Linked DNA regions of Homo sapiens: all the other regions are linked to region 4. Evidence: promoter capture Hi-C in 16 types of primary human blood cells and fetal thymus (Javierre and others, 2016). All regions are on one chromosome and are shown on one strand. Each heading gives the region's core, a stretch centred on a gene start or on the middle of the fragment in contact. The rest is flanking DNA. Distances are from core to core; before and after follow the strand shown. Region 1 has its middle 51 kb from the start of PROKR1. Region 2 has its middle 34 kb from the start of PROKR1. Region 3 overlaps GFPT1 (glutamine--fructose-6-phosphate transaminase 1). Region 4 holds the start of GKN2 (gastrokine 2). Region 5 overlaps APLF (aprataxin and PNKP like factor). Region 6 overlaps LOC124907821 (a long non-coding RNA gene). Region 7 has its middle 18 kb from the start of PROKR1.

The links. The method cuts DNA at HindIII sites, captures the fragments that hold promoters and counts their contacts. A CHiCAGO score of 5 or more calls a contact.
Region 1: a fragment that was not itself captured here is called in contact with the fragment with the promoter of GKN2 in region 4 in 3 of 17 cell types (activated CD4 T cells, total CD8 T cells and naive CD4 T cells); the score reaches 9.7 in activated CD4 T cells.
Region 2: a fragment that was not itself captured here is called in contact with the fragment with the promoter of GKN2 in region 4 in 5 of 17 cell types (activated CD4 T cells, non-activated CD4 T cells, naive CD4 T cells and 2 more); the score reaches 7.6 in activated CD4 T cells.
Region 3: a contact is called between a fragment that was not itself captured here and the fragment with the promoter of GKN2 in region 4, in 6 of 17 cell types (M2 macrophages, M1 macrophages, megakaryocytes and 3 more). The highest score is 8.5, in M2 macrophages.
Region 5: a fragment that was not itself captured here is called in contact with the fragment with the promoter of GKN2 in region 4 in 7 of 17 cell types (total CD4 T cells, activated CD4 T cells, total CD8 T cells and 4 more); the score reaches 8.7 in total CD4 T cells.
Region 6: a fragment that was not itself captured here is called in contact with the fragment with the promoter of GKN2 in region 4 in 3 of 17 cell types (megakaryocytes, M1 macrophages and M2 macrophages); the score reaches 6.1 in megakaryocytes.
Region 7: a contact is called between a fragment that was not itself captured here and the fragment with the promoter of GKN2 in region 4, in 7 of 17 cell types (non-activated CD4 T cells, activated CD4 T cells, naive CD4 T cells and 4 more). The highest score is 10.6, in non-activated CD4 T cells.

What each region holds. Positions count from the first base shown.
Region 1 is chr2:68,591,294-68,593,993 of GRCh38, forward strand. No RefSeq gene overlaps it. Among named protein-coding and RNA genes, the nearest start is that of PROKR1, 51 kb to the right of the region's middle. The HindIII fragment of the contact is 1,729 bases long and covers 443-2,171 here.
Region 2 is chr2:68,607,865-68,610,564 of GRCh38, forward strand. No RefSeq gene overlaps it. Among named protein-coding and RNA genes, the nearest start is that of PROKR1, 34 kb to the right of the region's middle. The HindIII fragment of the contact is 3,272 bases long and covers 1-2,700 here.
Region 3 is chr2:69,325,084-69,327,832 of GRCh38, forward strand. It overlaps GFPT1 (glutamine--fructose-6-phosphate transaminase 1), which reads right to left. Exons shown (of 20, transcript NM_001244710.2): 19 at 1,831-1,992; 20 at 1-1,150. The coding sequence ends at 1,106. Among named protein-coding and RNA genes, the nearest start is that of GFPT1, 61 kb to the right of the region's middle. The HindIII fragment of the contact is 9,540 bases long and covers 1-2,749 here.
Region 4 is chr2:68,951,604-68,954,405 of GRCh38, forward strand. It overlaps GKN2 (gastrokine 2), which reads right to left and starts at 1,290. Exons shown (of 6, transcript NM_182536.3): 1 at 1,247-1,290. The coding sequence starts at 1,258. The HindIII fragment of the contact is 766 bases long and covers 1,129-1,894 here.
Region 5 is chr2:68,573,223-68,575,989 of GRCh38, forward strand. All of the region lies in intron 9 of APLF (aprataxin and PNKP like factor), which reads left to right. Among named protein-coding and RNA genes, the nearest start is that of PROKR1, 69 kb to the right of the region's middle. The HindIII fragment of the contact is 1,101 bases long and covers 877-1,977 here.
Region 6 is chr2:69,288,269-69,291,039 of GRCh38, forward strand. LOC124907821 (a long non-coding RNA gene) reads left to right here. Exons shown (of 2, transcript XR_007086810.1): 2 at 1,227-1,608. Among named protein-coding and RNA genes, the nearest start is that of GFPT1, 98 kb to the right of the region's middle. The HindIII fragment of the contact is 4,347 bases long and covers 1-2,771 here.
Region 7 is chr2:68,624,672-68,627,382 of GRCh38, forward strand. It overlaps the pseudogene LOC100379290. Among named protein-coding and RNA genes, the nearest start is that of PROKR1, 18 kb to the right of the region's middle. The HindIII fragment of the contact is 3,535 bases long and covers 1-2,711 here.

The DNA.
Region 1 (2,700 bases), core at 57-2,556, 360 kb before region 4:
AGGAGACAGAGAATGCTGTGAACTTCAGTTTATATGTAACAGGCAATGAATACATGAGGCCACCAGACTCAGCTTCTGAGCCCAAGTCAGACCTGATACTCAATGGAGGTGACGTGGAAAAGAGAGTGCAGCCAGGTCCCACCGAGGGGCAGATCACAGATAACTTCCATCAGAGTTCGCCCAAAGAAGGAGCTGACTCCACCCTTGCCAAAAATGTTAACCTGAATCTAATTAAGCCTTTAAACCTAACTCCCAGGATACATGTAAAAATGGTAAAAAGTAGCAAGTTGAAGAGGCAAGGGGATTTACCCTCACTCTCCTAACAATGGCCTCCAACCCTCATATCTTACCATGAGGAAGGGAGTTTTATGTTGGAGGAGGCTGGAACTGGGGCAAGGCTGGATACTGCTGTACTGGAGGTTCCTGTCACCCATGTGAGATAAGCTTGGGTGACACATTGCTCACCTCAGTGTAGCTCTTTGGGTAACAGAGTCTCTTGAGTGTCCACCAACAGAGAGACTTTCTCTTAAGTGAGCCCCAGATTCCCAGTGCCCAGACTCCTGAGAGTGGGTTCTGTTCTGGCCTATAAAAGAAATTAGGAAATTGGAGATGGAAGAAAGGGAAGGAAGTAGGGGATTGTCCAGAGGTCAAGAGATGTCATTCTCCTCTAAAGTATCCTCAACAGATTTCAGTTGCCAACAGCAATCTTTCCCAAATGGAATTCTGATTCTATAGATATTTATAGGTGAGGCTTAAAAAGGGTACCATGATGAAATTAATTTTGAAATGCGGAATTAAATGGGTTTGTTGCTTTGAGACTTGACATAGCCTTGCATAAGCAAATGTGTCCTGTGAGTCTTTAAAACTGGGTTTATATATCTACTGTTTCTAAAACTTATATAACCATGAATTTTTTTCTGGGGCATTCTGAAAATTCTGAAATACTCATTCACTCATTCATTCAACACATACTTGTTGAGCAGCTGGAACTGCCACAGACATTGTTCTTGGCATAGAAGATGCAGAGATGAATGAGACAACGTTCTTTCCCAAATGGAGTTTATAGTATAATGAGATAACAGGAAATACACCAACAAAATAGAGACTACGATAGGTGTAATAAGTGCTATAGAAATAAAGCAGGGGAAAAGCATAGAGAATGGTGGGGTGGGAGCTTGCGATAGGTGTGAGGGGTGGTGGCTGTTTTAGATCCGTGGTCAGGAAAGGCCTCCCTGAGGAGTGATGTGTGAATACAGACCTGAGTGAACAAGGCAGTGGCCAGGAGAAGGTGTAGGAAGAGAGTATACCAAACGGAGCTGACAAGTACAAAGGCCACGGGCAGGAAGGAGCCTGGGGAGTTCCAGAAACAGCAGGAAAACTAGAGTGCTTATGGTAGAAGGATCAAGGTGGAGAGGAGGGGTGGGAGAGGGCTTCCTCTGGTAGAAGTAGGCAGGAGCCAGATTGTGTAGGGCTAGATCATGGGAATGTTCAGAGAAGAGGTGAGCATTTAGGGGATTTTGCAAATGACAGGCTGTGAGTTACAAAGGTCAAGAGTTTAGGGTTGTGAAGGAGTGAGAAACTGAGTCATATTTGTATACCTGTTGAACACACAGGTATAAGATAATAGATGAGGAATAAGTGAACTGGCATCTTGGATCCTGGTGGTGACTGAAGCAAACGGGTGACAGCATGTTGGGATAAGTTGTGATACAGGGTACTGAGCTCTCATTGCAGCTTCCAACCTGGATTTGTCCGTGGGCAGCCAAGGCTTGGGGCATCCTGAAGGCAGGGAAGAGGAAGTATTACCAAGGACATCTAGAGCTCTTCAGGGCTCCCTAACTTCTAGCTGACAGCCCTGTCTCAATAGGGAAGAAGTGGTCATGTTAGAAGTGTCACCGATGGTCTACTTTTCTTGAGGGAATGGGCTGTGTTCTCTTTTTCTCACATAATACCTAGCCCAGTGCTATATACATGTCTGATTATCTGTAAATATTTGTTCTACTAAACTAAATGTATATCTTGTGACTTTGAGAAAATGAATATTCTAGAAGAGAAAGTGAGTTACACTATAACCAACAAAATCCAAGCCCATGTCAGCTGAATAATAAATCCATACATGGGAAGCATAAACATTTCTATCATAACCATTAATAGCACTCAAATTATTAAAAAGCTTAAAAAGAACTCCAAGTGGAAATGATGAAGATTGTACATGCATGTTAATGAAATGTGTCATTACATATGCTGATATGTGTCTAAAGGAGAGATAGAAACTTAAAAATAAGACTTTCTTTGGTATTAAGTATACATTTGCATCTTTGTTTTCTGTTTTTAGTTATATCATTTTAATTTAATTCAATATAATTTAAAAATCATTTTTTCTTTATGACCATCGTTATCCTGAAAAAAATTAAAGGCTATTGAAAATGTAATTAATCATGACCTTTAGGTAGTTTCCTGAATTGATGAACTTTTCTATATTGCTCATTAACCCCGTGTCAGACAGTAAGCCCTGATGGTATTTCTGTACCATCATGGTCACTGGAAAATATGTATTGGAAGAAAGTAGTAAAGATATCATAATCATTTAATTTTCCTGCTGGAAGAAGCTTTAGAATTCATTGAGAAGCAGTGTTGACCGTAGACGAATGTTGACTATAATTTGAGTCAATGATGAATTCCTTCCTCTACTATAAACCC
Region 2 (2,700 bases), core at 36-2,535, 340 kb before region 4:
TAAATAAGCTGCCTTAATAGTTTTAATATGCATTTCAATATATTCTTAGAGACTTTCTTTTTTTATAATTTCAGCTTTTATTTTAGATTTGGGGGTATGTGGGTGGATTTGTCAATTGGTATGTTGTGTGATGCTGAGGTCTGAGGTGTGAATGATCCTGTCACTCATGTACTGAGCTGGGTATAATATGTAGTTTTTCAACCTTTGCTCCCTTCCCTCCCTCTGCTAGTAGTCCATAGTGTCTGTTGTTTTGTCCATGTGGATCCAATGTTTAGGTACCACTTATAAATGAGAACATGTGGTATTTGTTTTTTTGTTTCTGTGTTAATTTGCTTAGGATATGGCCTCCAGCTATATCCATGCTCCTGTAAAAGATATTATGTCATTCTTTTTATTGTTGTGTATATTTCATGGTGTATAGAAATAAATATGTACCACATTTTCTTTATCAAATCCACTGTTTATGGGCAACAAGGCTGATTCCATGTCTTTGCTATTGTGAATAGTGCTGCAATGAACACACAAGTGTATGTGTATTTTTGGTATAATGATTTATTTTCCTTTGTGTATATACCCAGTAATGGGACTGCTGGGTTGAATGGTAGTTCTGTTTTAAGTTCTTCAAGAAATCTTCAAACTGCTTTCCACAGCTACTGAACTAATTTACATTCCCACCAATAGTATATAAATGTTCCTTTTCTCCACAGCCTCACCAGCATCTGTTGTTTTTTGACTTTTTAATAATAGGCCTTCTGACTGGTGTGAGATGGTATCTTGTTGTTGTTTCAATTTGCATTTGTCAGATGATTAGTAATGATGAGCATTTAAAAATATATTTATTGGCCACTTGCATTGAGAAGTGATTATTCACGTCTTTCGCACATTTTTAAATGGGGTTGTTTTATTTGTTTTTTGCTTGTTGAATTGTTAAATTTCCTTATAGATTCTGGATATTCCACCTTTGTCAGATGATAGTTTGCAAATATTTTCTCCCATTATGTAGGTTGTCTATTTGCTCTGTTGATAGTTTCTTTTGCTTTACAGAAACTGTTTAGTTTAACTGTCAATTTTTTGTTTTGTTGCAACTGCTTTTGAGGACTTAGTCATAAATTCCTTTCCAAGGCCCATGTTCAGAATGGTATTTCATAGGTTTTCTTCTAGAATTTTTATAGTTCGAGGTCTTATGCTTAAATCATTAATCCATCTTCAGTTTATTTTTGTATATGGTGAAAGGTAAATGTCCAGTTTCATTCTTCTGCATATGGCTAGCTAGGTATCCCAGCACTATTTGTTGAATGGGAAGTCATTTTCCCATTGTTTCTTTTTGTCAGCTTTGTCAAAGATTAGATGGCTGTAGGTAAGTAGCTTTATGACTGGGTTCTCTATTCCAAATTTGAGATCGTTCTAACTTCTTGATGTAAGCATTTAGCACTATAAACTTCTCTCTTAACACTGCTTTTGTTTTCATTGCATTCCAGATATTTTGGTAGTTTATATGGCTATTTTGTACCAGCACCATGCTGTTTTGGTTTCTGTAGCCTTATATACTTTGAAGTTGGGTAATGTGATGCTTTCAGCTTTGTTCTTTTTGTTTAGGATTATCTTGGCTATTGAGGATCTTTTTTGGTTCCATATGAATTTTAGATAGTTTTTTCTAATTCTGTGAAAAATAACATTGGCAGTTTGATAGGAATAGCATTGACTCTGTAGATTGCTTTGTGCAGTTGGACCATTTTAATGATATTCTTTCAATCCATGAGCATGGAATGTCTTTCCATTTGGTAGTGTCATCTGTGATTTCTTTCAGCAGTGTTTTGGATTTCTCCTTGTAGATATATTTTATCTCCTTGGTTTTTGTATTTCTAAGTATTTTATTTTTGGGTGGCTATTGTAATTGAGATTGTATTCTTTATTTGGCTCTCAGCTTGAACATTATTGGTGTCTAGAAATGCTAATGCCTGTTGAAATTGATTTTGTAGCCTGAAACTTTAGTGAGGTCATTTATCGGTTATAGGAGCCTTTTGGTGGAATCTTTAGAGTTTTCTAGGTATAGAATCATATCATCAGCAAAGAGACATATTTTGACTTCTTTTTCTATTTGGATGCTTTTTATTTCTTTCTCTTGTCTTATTGCTCTGGCTAGGACTTCTATTACTATGTTGAATAGGAGTGGTGAGAGAGGGGAGCCTTGTCTTCTTCCTGTTCTTAAGGGGAGTACATTCAGCTTTTGCCCATCCAGTATGATGTTGGCAGTGGGTTTATCATAGATGGCTCTAATTATTTTGAGATAAGTTCCTTTGATGCCTAGTCTGTTGAGCATTCTTATTATGAAGGGATGTTGGATTTTATCAAAAACTTTTCCCTGCATCTATTGAGATAATCATATGGTTTTTGTTTTTAATTTTCTTTTTTTCTTTTTTTTTTTGAGACAGAGTCTCGCTCTGTCACCCAGACTGGAGTGCAGTGGTGCAATCTCAGCTCACTGCAAGCTCCGCCTCCTGGGTTCACGCCATTCTCCTGCCTCAGCCTCCCGAGTAGCTGGGACTACAGGCACCCGCCACCATGCCCAGCTAATGTTTTTGTATTTTTAGTAGAGACAGGGTTTCACTGGAGTGGTGAATCTCAGGCATATGTATAATGAAAACATTCCTCAGGTGATTCTGATGCAAAACTCATTAAAAATCACATTTCTAGAGGTAA
Region 3 (2,749 bases), core at 143-2,642, 370 kb after region 4:
TCTGAGCTTAGCCTACCACATATACTTAGAGTGAAATGATGAGGTCAGCGACCTGCAAATCTTCCAAACAATTGCAAGTAACTTCCAAACTGGCACTAAGGGACTAGTTTTATGCAACAATGTAATGAAGGAAAGTTAAAATTAACTACAGGAAATTCTTCCTCGTGACAAAGTTGAAGAGAATACTGAATATATCAATATTAATTTAATAGCAGCTCTGTGTTGTGATTTTAAAGAACAAGATAAAATATGTCATTCAGCAGTCATTTAAAAAATAAAAGACTACAGATACAAGGAAATAAAAACCACTTTTAGGAGATGAAAACACAAAGTAGTAGGATACCCAACATGTACACATCCCATCTTCAAATTTAAAATCATATTGTCAGTTGTCCAAAGCAGCTTGAATTTAAAGTTTGTGCTATAAAATTGTGCAAATATGTTAAGGATTGAGACCCACCAATGCACTACTGTAATATTTCGCTTCCTAAATTTCTTCCACCTACAGATAATAGACAACAAGTCTGAGAAACTAAGGCTAACCAAACTTAGATATAAATCCTACCAATAAAATTTTTCAGTTTTAAGTTTTACAGTTTGATTTAAAAACAAAACAGAAACAAATTTCAAAATAAATCACATCTTCTCTTAAAACTTGGCAAACCCTTCCCTAACTGTCCAAGTATGAGCATACACTGCCACTGGCTTTAGATACTCCAATTAAATGCACTACTCTTTCACTGGTCTGAATGAAGTATGGTGAAACAAGTACCAATTTTTAGAAACATATTGTCTTCTCAGATTGAAGTGGAGGGTCCAGAAATGCAACACCCAGCATTCTTTAAAGAAAATAATAGCTAGAATCTTTCTGATACAGATTCCAATATAGATTCCATTATTCAAAGTCCTCCACAAATTACTGGGAAAATGTAAGAGGTAACTTCACAAAAATCACATATTGAGTGGAATAATTATAACTGATATATAAATAAGGATTTACTAAAAAAAGGCTTCAAGGGGTGATATTTTAAATCAAGGTTTTAAATACAAAAGGTGTCTTGTGTTGCTTAATCATACAGTTTCGTACATTTTGTATAGATATTCCTCACTCTACAGTCACAGATTTGGCAAGATTCCGTGGGAAATCAACCTGCAAAAAGAAAAAAAAAAAAAGCAAGATTTGAGAGATTATATAGACTGGGGAAGGGGGTGGTTACTATAAGCAAATTATTTTTGTTTATAAAAACAGAAAACAATACATTCATTAACCATCTTTATTACAGACTACAAAGAATTAGATTAGAAAATATAATCACATAATGTGTCCTGAAAAAAACTGAAATTGGTTAGGAAAAAGCATTCTAAAGGTGCCAGTTCACACAGAAAGAGCTACTGTGGTCCTCTACAGAAGTAGTAGCCCTCATAGGGGACACTAAAAACAAAAGCACTATGTTTTGGTTGCCACAATGGCTGAGAAACCAGGAATGCTACAAAGTCTTCAATGTGTGGGACAGTTCCAAACAAAAAAGAATTGTCCTGCCAAATGCCAATAGCTGCCCTGTTAAGAGATAGAGGTTATATTAAGAAAACAGGTGGAGACTACCCAAGGTGAGTCACAATCTTGGAGGTGAACCCCAAGGTTCCTTCAAGTTCTATGGGTAAGAAGATGTTGTGATGTAACCTACAAATTGGGCCATGAAAATATAACAGGTGACAGATATATATTTGATAGATTTCTCAAACACTATTGTTAAAAATTTAGGAGAAAAAAATCAGAATGTATCCAGGTAAAAAACCATCCCAAGATTTCTGCAGTGGTAGATGACTTACATCATAGCCTCTCAGCACAGCAAGGTGGAAAGCCAGCAACTGTAAAGGGATCACGCTGAGAATGCCCTGCAAGCAGTCCACTGAGTGGGGCACCTTGATCGTTCTTTTTGTGTTCTTAATGGTCTCAGTATCCTCCTTATCACAAATTACCACAGGCCGCCCCTAGGAAAGAAAATCACACACATACACAACATCACTGGTGGGCAAAGGCAGGGCTATAGCTTACGAATGTGCAAAAATTGCACTGCATAATCCATATGAAGCCTCACGGACAGACTTCTTTAAATTCCTGTGTAGTAAATCTGATTGTTATTACTTATAGTCGAGGAAACAGAAGCGTTATGGGATCCAGTAATTTGTTTAAACTCATGCAACTAAGAAATACCAGGCTTAGTACTTGACTGCAGGTTTGCCTAACTTCAAAGCTCAAGTTCATTACCACCACATTGTGCTTAGGGAATAATATCTTTTGGAATTTATATATAAAGCCAACTGATCTGAAGAAAACTCAATTATATAATATTAAAATAAAACCTAGATGTTAGATTTCCCCTGAAATATATCGCGTGTGTGTAATTTTTTTTAATTTATTTTATTTACTGTTTTAGAGACAGGGTCTCACTATGCTACCCAGGCTGTATTCAAACTCCTGGACTCAAGTGATCCTCCTGCCTCAGTCCCCAGAGTAGCTGGGACTACAGTCATGTGCCACTGCAACCAGCTGAAATATATATTTAAAAATATTTTAAAATACATTTTTAAATGTTTTAGAAGTATTAAATTAAAAAGGAACAGCATATGTTAACTAAAAGAAGACAGGATGTGGAGACCAAGACCTCAGTTCTGGTCTTGGTTCTGCCCAATATGAGATCTATGACCTTGGTCTTCTTAAAGCTCTAAGTATCTGGGCCAGGCGGGG
Region 4 (2,802 bases), core at 40-2,539:
CTACTTCCCTTTCCATCCCACCCTTAATATTTCTCTTCTGGGGACTGGGAGTAGAGCATCTAACAAAGACCTGTGTGCTGATATTCAGCCTTCCATAGGGATACATCTTCTCTTACCACAGACCAGCTCCAGCAACATATGATACTCCCGTATATTCTAGTTAATGAGTCTAAAATAGTGGTTTGAACAAGTAGTCGAAGGACTAAACCACTTTAATGGTATGATTAGAGAGAGCTTGGGGAGTGTCCTCTGCCCCAAAATGATCTCCCTTCCAACACTGTGGTTAATACACCATGGTTATATAATACTTTTGTGCTTCAGGGTTAGGTCTCAATTTGGAAAATCAAGACAGCCCTGAGAGAGGGAGCTCTTTAAGCTGATAGTCTTTAACACTTTAGAAAGAGGTACTTAACATTTTGCTTTCTCCCTTAGCAGCTGAATGAGAATAAAGGACAGAGACTAGGGGAGCGAATTCCATTCTAGGTCAGAACATAGCCCACTGTCCATGGGGCACTGCAATGTGGAACTACGGAGGCTGGGATCAGATGGAGGGGTGGAGTGGCCATAGAAGGAACGTTTTGTCCTAAGGGAGAATTTAGTCATAATGAGAGGACATTGAAGACACTCTGGCTGCTTAAATTTGCCATGATTGCGCCTGCAAGTGGGGATTCAGATGGATAAATTACATTCTAAATCCCACATTTACGGGCTTGGGAAAATCACATTCCTCTGCCTCTCAGTCTCCTTATCTGTAAAACGGGGAGAATACTACTCAACTCATAGGGTTGTTGCAATGAATAGATGAAATTATTCATGTGATATGCTTAGTCTAAGGCTTAGTATGCATTTGAGAAATGAGAGGTACTATTATTACTATTACTGATATTATTTTTAAACTACAGCTTCTCTCTTAGATAGCAAATGTAGTTGTTTTAAATAGCCCAAATTCCCTATGAAGCTCATAATAAAGGATTATTATTAAACATCCTCCAAATCAAAATTATCTAGAGATTTCTTTGTATTTTTGAATTTTCTTTTAAGTAAACATCTCAAAACAGGAAAAGGACAAAAAAAGTCAGACTTATTCAACACTATTTCTGCCAAAGATGTCATTAATTCAATCACAGAAGCTTAGAAGCATGCACAGTATCTGTCTAAGACTCCCAAAATCCATGGCATATTAGATATGAGCATTGTCTGCAAGCAGTCACCACAAGAGTATCAAGAAGCAGAAACAAATACTCACAAGTATTTTCATTTTGCCTGGGAGAGGAAGGTGCTGGAGTAAGTAAAGCTGCCCTGTGCAGCTTCTATCCTTTATATGGGCTTGAAGATGTGGATATCTCTTTTTCAAATGATCACTTTGGAAAAGACCATGTCTATATCTCTGACACACCCTAGCAAACTCCTTTATCAGAATTGAGATCCAACCACATACCTGATATCAATGAAGTTCATTAGTCAGTAATGAAAATTCACCACTTGGTCACTCTGTAAATATTCCCTGCTATTTGTACTATGCTGCACTTGACATTTTAATTTCCACCCTTTAAAAATATTGCATGATGCTTGTTCTATGCATACATTTTATAGCTCTACAAGGACAAACTTCTAACATCTCCTCCTAAAGGAAGAGTGCTTCCTTAAGGCCTGAGTTGGGCCCCAACTCAATGTCTTTTCACCACTGTTCTGCTGGCTGAATTCTTCCACAGAGGGAACGGATATGAGACGGGGTGCCAAGACAGTGGCTGGGGAGGCCTGCTTGGAGAACAAACAGCCTAGGACTTTCTTCGTTCTTCCCTTTAGATTTGGTGTCAATTTCCAGAAATTAATGAGGAACAAGACTCAGAAAGCATTCTCCCCAATTACCAAGTTTAACCAAATTTTTACATTAAGCTTCGCCCAAAACTGCACAAAACTGTAAGTTAGAGACCTCTAGTTATCTTGCAGAGTATTAAGAAATTCTTAGATTGAAAAAAAAAAAAAAGAGAGAGAAAGAGAATAAAGTTTAATTTGTGTAATTTTTTTAACATGACAATTAGAAATGGCTAGTTAGTGTCAGGGTATAATCATGAACTCAGGAAGGGAAATTTAAAAACAAAACAAACAACAACAACAACAAAAACAATAAACTGCGGCTGGGCGCAGTGGCTCATGCCTGTAACCCCGGCAATTTGGGAGGCCAAGGCGGGCAGATCACCTGAGGTCAGAAGTTTGAGACCAGCCTGGACAACATGGTGAAACCCCGTCTCTACTATGGTGAAACCCCGTCTCTACTAAAAGTACAAAAAAATTAGCCAGGCGTGATGGTGCTCGCCTGTAGTCCCAGCTACTCAGGAGGCTGAGGCAGGAGAATTGCTTGAACCCGGGAGGCAGAGGTTGCAGTGAGCCAAGATCATGCCACTGCACTCCAGCCTGGGTGATAGAGCAAGATTCCATCTCAAAACAAAACAAAACAAAAAACCCCAGTAAATTGCAAAATTGTAAAATATTGAGAATCACCACAGTAAACAAAGAGATAACATAAATAATGGCCTTGTTCTATAGCTGAAACAACTTTCTAACTTTAGCAGCTTTAAACAAAAATGGGGTTCTCAAAAAGTAGACATCTGGGCAAGTTAAGGGTTACCTAGTTCACTGGAATCTCCCTACCCTGGCTGTTCAGTGGGGGTGGATGTAAAACACGCAGCTTTATTAAATCTTTCTCAGATAGTAGCTGCAGAAAGGATTACAGTTTTCTAAGGCACCTGCAAATTTTCTCTCATATCTGGCTTCAGAGACTCAAAAAAGCAAACCAGCAAT
Region 5 (2,767 bases), core at 177-2,676, 380 kb before region 4:
GCTGGCTTCAAGTAGTCAAGCTGTCAATCCCTGTCCACATTTCATTTTACTTCACTGATTTGTAGAGAAAATAAAGGTTCCTGTTGTGGCCTTAAAATTAGAACTCTGGAGTTAGAAATATCTTTGTGATCATTTAATGTTTGATGTGTAGTTTAAAAAGTAATTTCCGGCCAGGCACAGTGGCTCACACCTGTAATCCTAGCACTTTGGGGGGCCGAGGCGGGTGGATCACCTGAGGTCAGGAGTTCAAGACCAGCCTGACCAAAATGGTGGAACCCCATCTCTACTAAAAATACAAAAAGTAGCTGGGCGTGGTGGCGGGGGCCTGTAATCCCAGCTACTCAGGAGGCTGAGGCAGGAGAATCGTTTGAACCCGGGAGACAGAGGTTGCAGTGAGCCGAGATTGTGCCATTGCACTCCAGCCTGGGCAACAAAGCGAGACCTTGTCTCAAAAAAAAAAAAAAAAAAAGTAATTTCCATTAGGTTAAGTGACTTGTTCATTGTCATGAGTTCATTTATAACACAGATAGTTGGACTTCTAACCCCTGGTCTAGTCCTCTTTCTCTTAAACTGTGCTATTTTAAAGAGTCTTTTTGTTGGGTAAGATGTGAATGCACATTATCACATAACATGTCCTAATGATATCTCAATAAGACAGTTTCCTTTCAGATTCAGAAATCACTTAACAGCTTTACAATAAAAACAGATAAAAAGCCGGAACAACTTCAGGTTCTCATAGACAATCAAATGAGAGCAGCAGTAACTAGCAGGAAGAAATTTATAAGCATTCTAGGCAAAAATAGAGAAAAGACTTATTTCTTTCAAGTTTACCTGGACTTAGAAGTGTTAACCCAAATTAAAAAAAAAAAAAAAGGAAGCTTTCTAAGATAAATTTACTTGGGAATATTGTAATGAGAATACGTGTGTTATTGTAAAAATCAGTATTCAGAGTATTTTCCAGGTAAGTAAAGTTTAATTTTTTTTTTTGGCCCAGTTACACTGAAAGGCAGAATTGGATATTTCTCTAAAAACACCTTCAGACTCTACTAGCAATTTTTTAAAAAGGAAAGTCATCTAGGTAGCATTTGTTTTATATAACATTTAAAGTTATTAATTGAATTTTCCACAGTATAATCTATTAAATAATTGGTCCCACAAAGATAATCACATGTCAGCATTTATAACCCTGTTATGAAGGATCTGTGTGACACCACTAACAGGACACAGAGCTGAATTCTAGAGCTGACTTTGTGCTCATGTCATGACTTGGCTCTTCAAGTGTTTTCACTTAAAGTATAAAAGTACCTGTTCATGTGAGTTAAGGTGGATTACATTTGGCTACTAGCCACGTTGAATTCTGTTACAGATGGTTTTGTTAGATTCTGGACTTCCTGTAAGAAGAACATGAATGTGTAAAGGTAAACATAAAATGTAAGTGATGACAGATATAAACTTTTTTCTGAGTAAACAAACAAAATTCTTCCGATTAATGTGGTCTTACTGCCTCAACAAATGAGGCTTCTTAATAAGTTGCTAAATATTTCCAGGGTTCACTGAGGCTTCATTTAGCAGAATTAAAGTCTTTTATGTAATTCATTATATTGACTGGCAGGCTAGTGATCAAAAGTGTAGGCTAAAATAAGAGTTTCTGTAAAACTAAAGATGTTCAGTAGTTGATTTGCAAATGGTTCATTTATTCATTCATTGATATATTCAACAAATATATTTATTAAGTGCTCCCACATGTTAAGCGCTGTTGTCTGAGCTAAGGACACAGTAGAAACAAAGCCCTGCTCTTGCAGAATTGTACACAGATGGGCAGTGGACACACAAGCAATTATTTGTTGTCATGTGTTGATAATTAGAAGAAAAATAAGCTGTGTAGGAGGACAGAATAGCAAGGGTGTGTACATGGTATGGGGAATGCCATGTCAGGATGGTAAAAGAAGCACTCTGATAATTTGACATTGGAGCCAAAGCTTGGAGGAGGGAGCAAGCCAGGTGATTATCTAAGGAAGAATATGCCAGGCGTTGGGAATCATGAATTTAAAATCCCTGGTGATGACCATGCTTGGACTGTTCTAGGAATAGCAAAGAGCAAATAGAATTGGAACAGTGTGAGTAAACAGAATGGCATAGGATGAGATCAGAAAACTACCAGTGGGCTAGTTGAGTAGAGTCTTCAAAGCTGAGACCTGTAAATAAAGACTTTAGATTTTATTTAGAGTGAGACAGAAAGCTATTGGAAGGTTTTCTGACTTTTTTTTGTGAAGAATAGACTAGAATGGAAGCAAGAGAGCCAGTTAGGAGGATATTGTATTCAGGAAGAAAATGATAGTATTGGGGCCAGGGCATTAGAGTGGATGTGATCAGAAGTGGTGGATTTACTTTGCAGGTAAAGCTAACAGGATCTCTTGAGGTATTAGATGTTGGGTTCTCGGTGAGGGATATTAAAGGATGACTACAAGATTTCTTGCTAAAACAACTAGATGGTTGGATGATTAGAGAAGTCATATATTCAAGACTGATAAATAGAATGACCAGATCTGGGTAAAGCAACTAAAGAGTTATGTTCTGGAAATGTTATATTCCAGGTGCCTGTAAGTCATCCAAGTACAGATAATGCTTAAGTATCCAGATAAATGAGTCTGGAATTCAGGGCAGTAGGTCAGGGCTTAAGATGTGAATTTGGGAATTTAGGACATAAGACTGGATGGAATCATCTAAGGAGTGAGTTAGAGAAGAGGTTCCAGCTCTAAAATTTAGA
Region 6 (2,771 bases), core at 25-2,524, 340 kb after region 4:
CCTGAAGTTGTAACAATTAGTCTATATTTTCTTAACATTTCAAAATTTTACATTCTATAGATTTTAATCCAGCTGGAATTGTGTATATATGCATGTGCACACATGTGTTACGTATAGTGAGGTGGGAATCCTATTTTTTCTTTTTTCATAGTTTATTGTTCAAGACCAATTTATTATTCTTTCTTCATACTGCTTTGAATGCTACTTGTGTCATAAACCAAATTCTTAATATACATAAGTCTTTTTCTACACTCTCCAGGCTGTCCCATTGGTAGCTTTTACTATTTCTATGCCAATATTACACTGTTTAACTTTCTATAGCTTGCAAAATTTTTTGAAATCTGAGGGCGTATTTCTCATTATCAGCATTATTATGATTAAGATTTTTGAAATTTATAACTGTTTCCTCTTTTATATGAATTTTTGGACCTATTTTGTCAAGTTCTGTGAAAAACTCTCTTGGACATTTTTGTTAGAATTGAATTAACTTTAATTTGATTTGGACAAAAATTGACATTTTATGTACAAAGACTTTTTATCCATGAATATATTTTGTCTCCCAACTACCTGGTCTTGTTTCATGTCTTTCAAAAAATTGTTTTCACCTTTTCTTTAAAGGTCTTATCCTCATATTTCTTTCTAGAAGTTCATAGTGTTTTTATTTTTTATTGATATATAATAGATGTGCATATTCAGTTTTTGTTGTTGCTATTGTTGTTTTAAATGTATTTTAAGTAAATTTTCTAAATTTTGCTACTGATTTTTTTGGTTTTATTGTCATTGTTGCTTTGAGACAATGTCTCGCTCTGTCACCCAGGCTGGAGTGCAGCAGTGCAATCACAGCTCACTGCAGCCTTGATCTCCTGGGCTCAAGCCATCCTCCCACCCCAGCCCCCTGAGTAGCTGGGACCACAGGCACATGCTACCATGTCTGGCTAATTTTGTTTTGTGGGTTTTTTTTTTTGTAGAAACGGGGTTTCACCATGTTGTCCAGGCTGGTCTTGAACTCCTGGGTTCAAGCAATCCACTTTCCTCAGCCTCCCAAAGTGATGGGATTACAGACGTGAGCCACTCCTAGCCTTTACTGATTATTTTGTATATTGCTCATTTCCAGTAACCTTACTAAACATTCTTGTTATTTCTAATATTTTACCTGTAGGTTCTCATAAATGTTCTATTTTGGCCATCAAATAATCTCAAATAATGATAATTTTTTTTCTTTTCAGCTTTTTCTTTTTTCTACAACCATGACAATCCCAACTCAGCTCATAGGGACTAACAAGAAAGTGGACTCTACAGTCTCTATAGCAACACTGGAGTGGAGGAGGCAAGCTAACTCTAAGTTGTTATGTTGATGGTGGCTGATCATCAGGCATGTTTAGTACCAAAGTTCTCGAACATGTATGCTTGAATGTACACCCTACATGATTTCTTTGTAATGTTCTTTTTCCATCCCATGACTCCACCCAAATTCTCCACTCACTATCTCCCACTGTATGGTTTTATGGGGCTGCTCATCCAAGGACCGTACTGGTACAGTATTCTCAATTCCTTCCATTATCATATTGTTATAATAAAAATGTTATTTTTGTATCCTAGGTAACCCAATTTGGTGTCTGCATTGTTTTTCCTTCATGATAATCCTAATGCCAGCTGGCATATTTTATAAGGGTATATAAACTGTACTAAGTTCAGTGGGCTGACATACGCAAGAACAAGATGTAAGCATTCTGTTTTCTCTTTCCAAGACCTGTATTTTGGAATTTTTTACTTTGAGTTGCTTTTTTTAGGGACTGGTGGAGGTGTTGTTGAATTGTTGGTGTTGTTGTATGTTTGTGTTTTATTTTGGTGACAACCTGTTATCCTCAGTTTTAGTCTACTTATTTCTGAAATCTGAACATAAACACAAATATGTTTCATTGTCAGTGTTACTCCCATTCCTTTTCATAATGTATTATTCTTTCATTGTGGCTTTTTTGTTTTTTATTTATTTGTTGAAACAGAGTCTTGCTCTCTTGTCCAGGCTGGAGTGCAGTGGCACAATCACAGCTCCTTGCAGCCTTGACCTCCTGGGCTCAAGCGACCCTCCCATGTCAGCCTACTGAGTCGCTGGGACTACAGGTATATACCACAACACCAGCTAGTTTTTTATTTTTTGTAGAGGCAGGGCCTCCATATGTCACCCAGACTGGTCTCAAACTTCTGGGCTCAATTGATCCTCCTGCCTCCTGCCTCAATCTCCCAAAGTGCCGGGATTATAGGTGTGAGCCACCACACCCAGCCTGTGTATCTCTTTAATCATTTAAACATCCCTATCTTTGATGGTCTCTTTCAAATTGTTTTTCTATGATCTAGGGTTTGAGGTTGCTGACCTCCCTACAAGTGTCTGAAAACTCTTGTTTATGGTGGGTCTATCAGATATATTGTAATTTTTTACTGAACGCTCATCTTCAACTGAGCTTGATTTTTCGATGGAAATCTTTTATGACCAGAGTGATTTTCCATCTATGTCAGCATGTATCCTCAGCAGTAACATACACAGGCCCACTCTTCACGTGCATCTCTTAATTTATGATGTTCATAACTCACAGACAGTATAAATTCAGTCTTCCAACCTCTCAAAGCATATACTTGGGATTTTACTTTCTCACAAAAGGATTTTATTTTTTCACCCAGAACCTAAGCACAAGCAAACTTTCTTGGCATCTTCCCAATTCAATGGGTGGATTTTTTATCCTAGTCCCTCTTTCCCTAAGAGTTCAGTCCTGCAA
Region 7 (2,711 bases), core at 195-2,694, 330 kb before region 4:
AAGGGCTTGCACTAGGGTAAATTGAAACCCCACAATGCTTGTTGTTCTTACAGTTTTGTTTTGTTTTTTTTTTTTTCCGAGACGGAGTCTCACTCTGTCACCAGGCTGGAGTGCAGTGGTGCCATCTCAGCTCACTACAACCTCCGCCTCCTGGGTTCAAGCGATTCTCCTGCCTCAGCCTTCTGAGTAGCTGGGACTATGCCACATGCCACCACACCTGGTTAGTTTTTGTATTTTTAGTAGAGACGGGGTTTCACCATGTTAGCCAGGATGGTCTCGATCTCTTGACCTTGTGATCCACCTGCCTTGGCCTCCCAAAGTGCTGGGATTACAGGTGTGAGCCACCACGCCTGGCCCTTACCTAGTTTTTTTTGAATAAGTTCTTATATTACTCAATCTCTGGCTAATTTCCAGAGTTCCAAAAAAGTTAATGTTGAAAGATTTTGACAGTTTATTTTTTGTTGCTTTCATAGGGGGCAAAACTCCTGAGTTTCTTACTCTGCCATTTTTCCTGATGTTCTATTTAATCTTGAATAATCATACTCACACTGGATTTTTGAGGATGTTCTGCAGTATTTCAAACACTTTCATATCCATCTTCTCATTTTATTCTTATAGTAAACTTTGTAGCTGAGAAGTAAACATCCCTTTTATGGAGGAGAAATGTAAGGTGTCCTGCAGGCAGTTACTCTGTCTTCTGTGTGCCCCAGCTTCTCTATCATATCATCCCATTAATTTAGATTAATTTTTTATAGCTAGACAATAAACTCCAAACAGAATAGATAATGTTATTGTCTCCTTGAGACCAAGCACATAGCATAGCTTTTATTCTAGAACAGAGTACATGTTTTGGAATTTAAAAATGAATAAAAAATAAAGTTTAATGTTTAAGACCTCTTTCCTGATGAAATAATTTGTGTCCTGCAGTGTTAGACCTGAAAGTGTCCTCAGGGGCTACATGGGGAGGAAATAGATTGCACAGGACTTAGCTTCCTATCTCAATGTTTCAACAGAACCATTCCCCCTTTAGTCATCTCTCTCCTAATGTTCATTTGACAAATATTAATGGAGCTCCTACTATGAGTCTGGCCTGATAAAAGAAGTTACAAAGAGAAATTAGGAAAGCAGAGACCTTGTCATGGAATTTACATTGATGAGAGAGAAAATAAAAATGAAAAAACATATAATTTCAAGTGGAAATAAATGATAAAAAAATAAAGCAGAACAAGGTAGGAAGGCACTGGGGAACACAAAATGATTTTAGATAGGGTTATCAGAGGTGTCCTCTCTGAGGTGATATTTAAGCAAAGATATGAATGAAATGAAGGTCAGGTCATCTGAAGATATGGGGGAAATGTTCCAAGCAGGGGAAGCAGCAGGTGGCAAGACCCTGAGTTGGGAGTGAGTTAGCATGATTCAGGAATGACAAGACCACAGTGGCAGAGGTGGGATGAACAAGGGCAGAGTGCCATAGGAGAGAGTGGTAGAGATCAACATGGTGGGGCCATGCCGTATTTTGCAAGTCAGTGCTGCTACGTTAGATTTGTCTTGAACAAATAGTATTTTGGCTAAAGTAAAAGTTTGAAAAGCACAAATTTTATGTTAAAATTTATTATTATATATTTACTTGCTCCTTCCTTCCCTTTCTCCTTGTCTCCCTCCCTCTCACCTTTCCTTCCTTCCTCCCTCCCTTCCTCCCTCCTTCCCTCCCTCCCTTCCTTCCTTCTTTCCTTCCTTCCTTCTTTCCTTCCTTCCCTCCCTCCCTCCCTCCCTTCTGTTCTTTTCTTTCTTTTTATTTATCTTCCCTACCAACAGAGTCTAGATCATGTCTTCTTTACCTGTGATTAACACAGGACCTGGCACATAGAGGGTAATCAAATGATATTTTTCTGAATGAGTGAGAAAATTGAGACCCAGAGAGGCCAAGTAGCATTTTTAAGGCCACCCAGATAGTGACAGAACAAAATCCAGATTTGTGTTTAGCTCATCTTCTGTCACTTTACCACATCAGTTGCATGGAATTAAAAACAGATCCAAAGATTTTATAATTAGTGTATGTGGTTTGTTTTCTGTTACTGACTCCAAGTATAATCTAGTCACACAATCACACGGCTAAGACATTAGTGAAAGACGATTATTGTTTCATTGGGTTAAGGAGAAAGGTTTCCTGGTGACAGTTAGCATCAAAGATATACTGTGTTATAAAGAACCACAGGGTGTGATTGAGGTAGGATGGAGGAGGGACTGCTCTATTGGTACAGTGTCCTGTATCAGGGAGGGATAGTTTGGTTGCAGTCTTTCCTTAATTAGAGGAGGAGAGATAAGGGGAAAATATCATCAAGAAAATGAAAAGTTTTCAAAGTAGAAAATGCCACATTTTCTACTTTGCAGATGCAAAGGCCAGGAAGCAGACAGAGTCAGAAAACAAATTGTCTAGAATGACCCATAGTGCTCTGGAGTACTTTAATGTGATTGGCCAAGGCTTGAAGCATCTCTTCTGGCAGCAGCCCAAGAAGTCATCCATGTCTCCATGTGATGTGCAGAAAATTCAGGCAGATCCAGAACCTGAAATAGATCTGGAAAGCCAGAACACATGTGCTGAGACTGAGAGTAGCCCCACCTCCCACCCCACAGCTCTGAATCAGTTCCTGCAACAAATCCAAGTACCATTCAAGATGAAGACAAGACAAATTTTTATGGCAGGCAGGGCA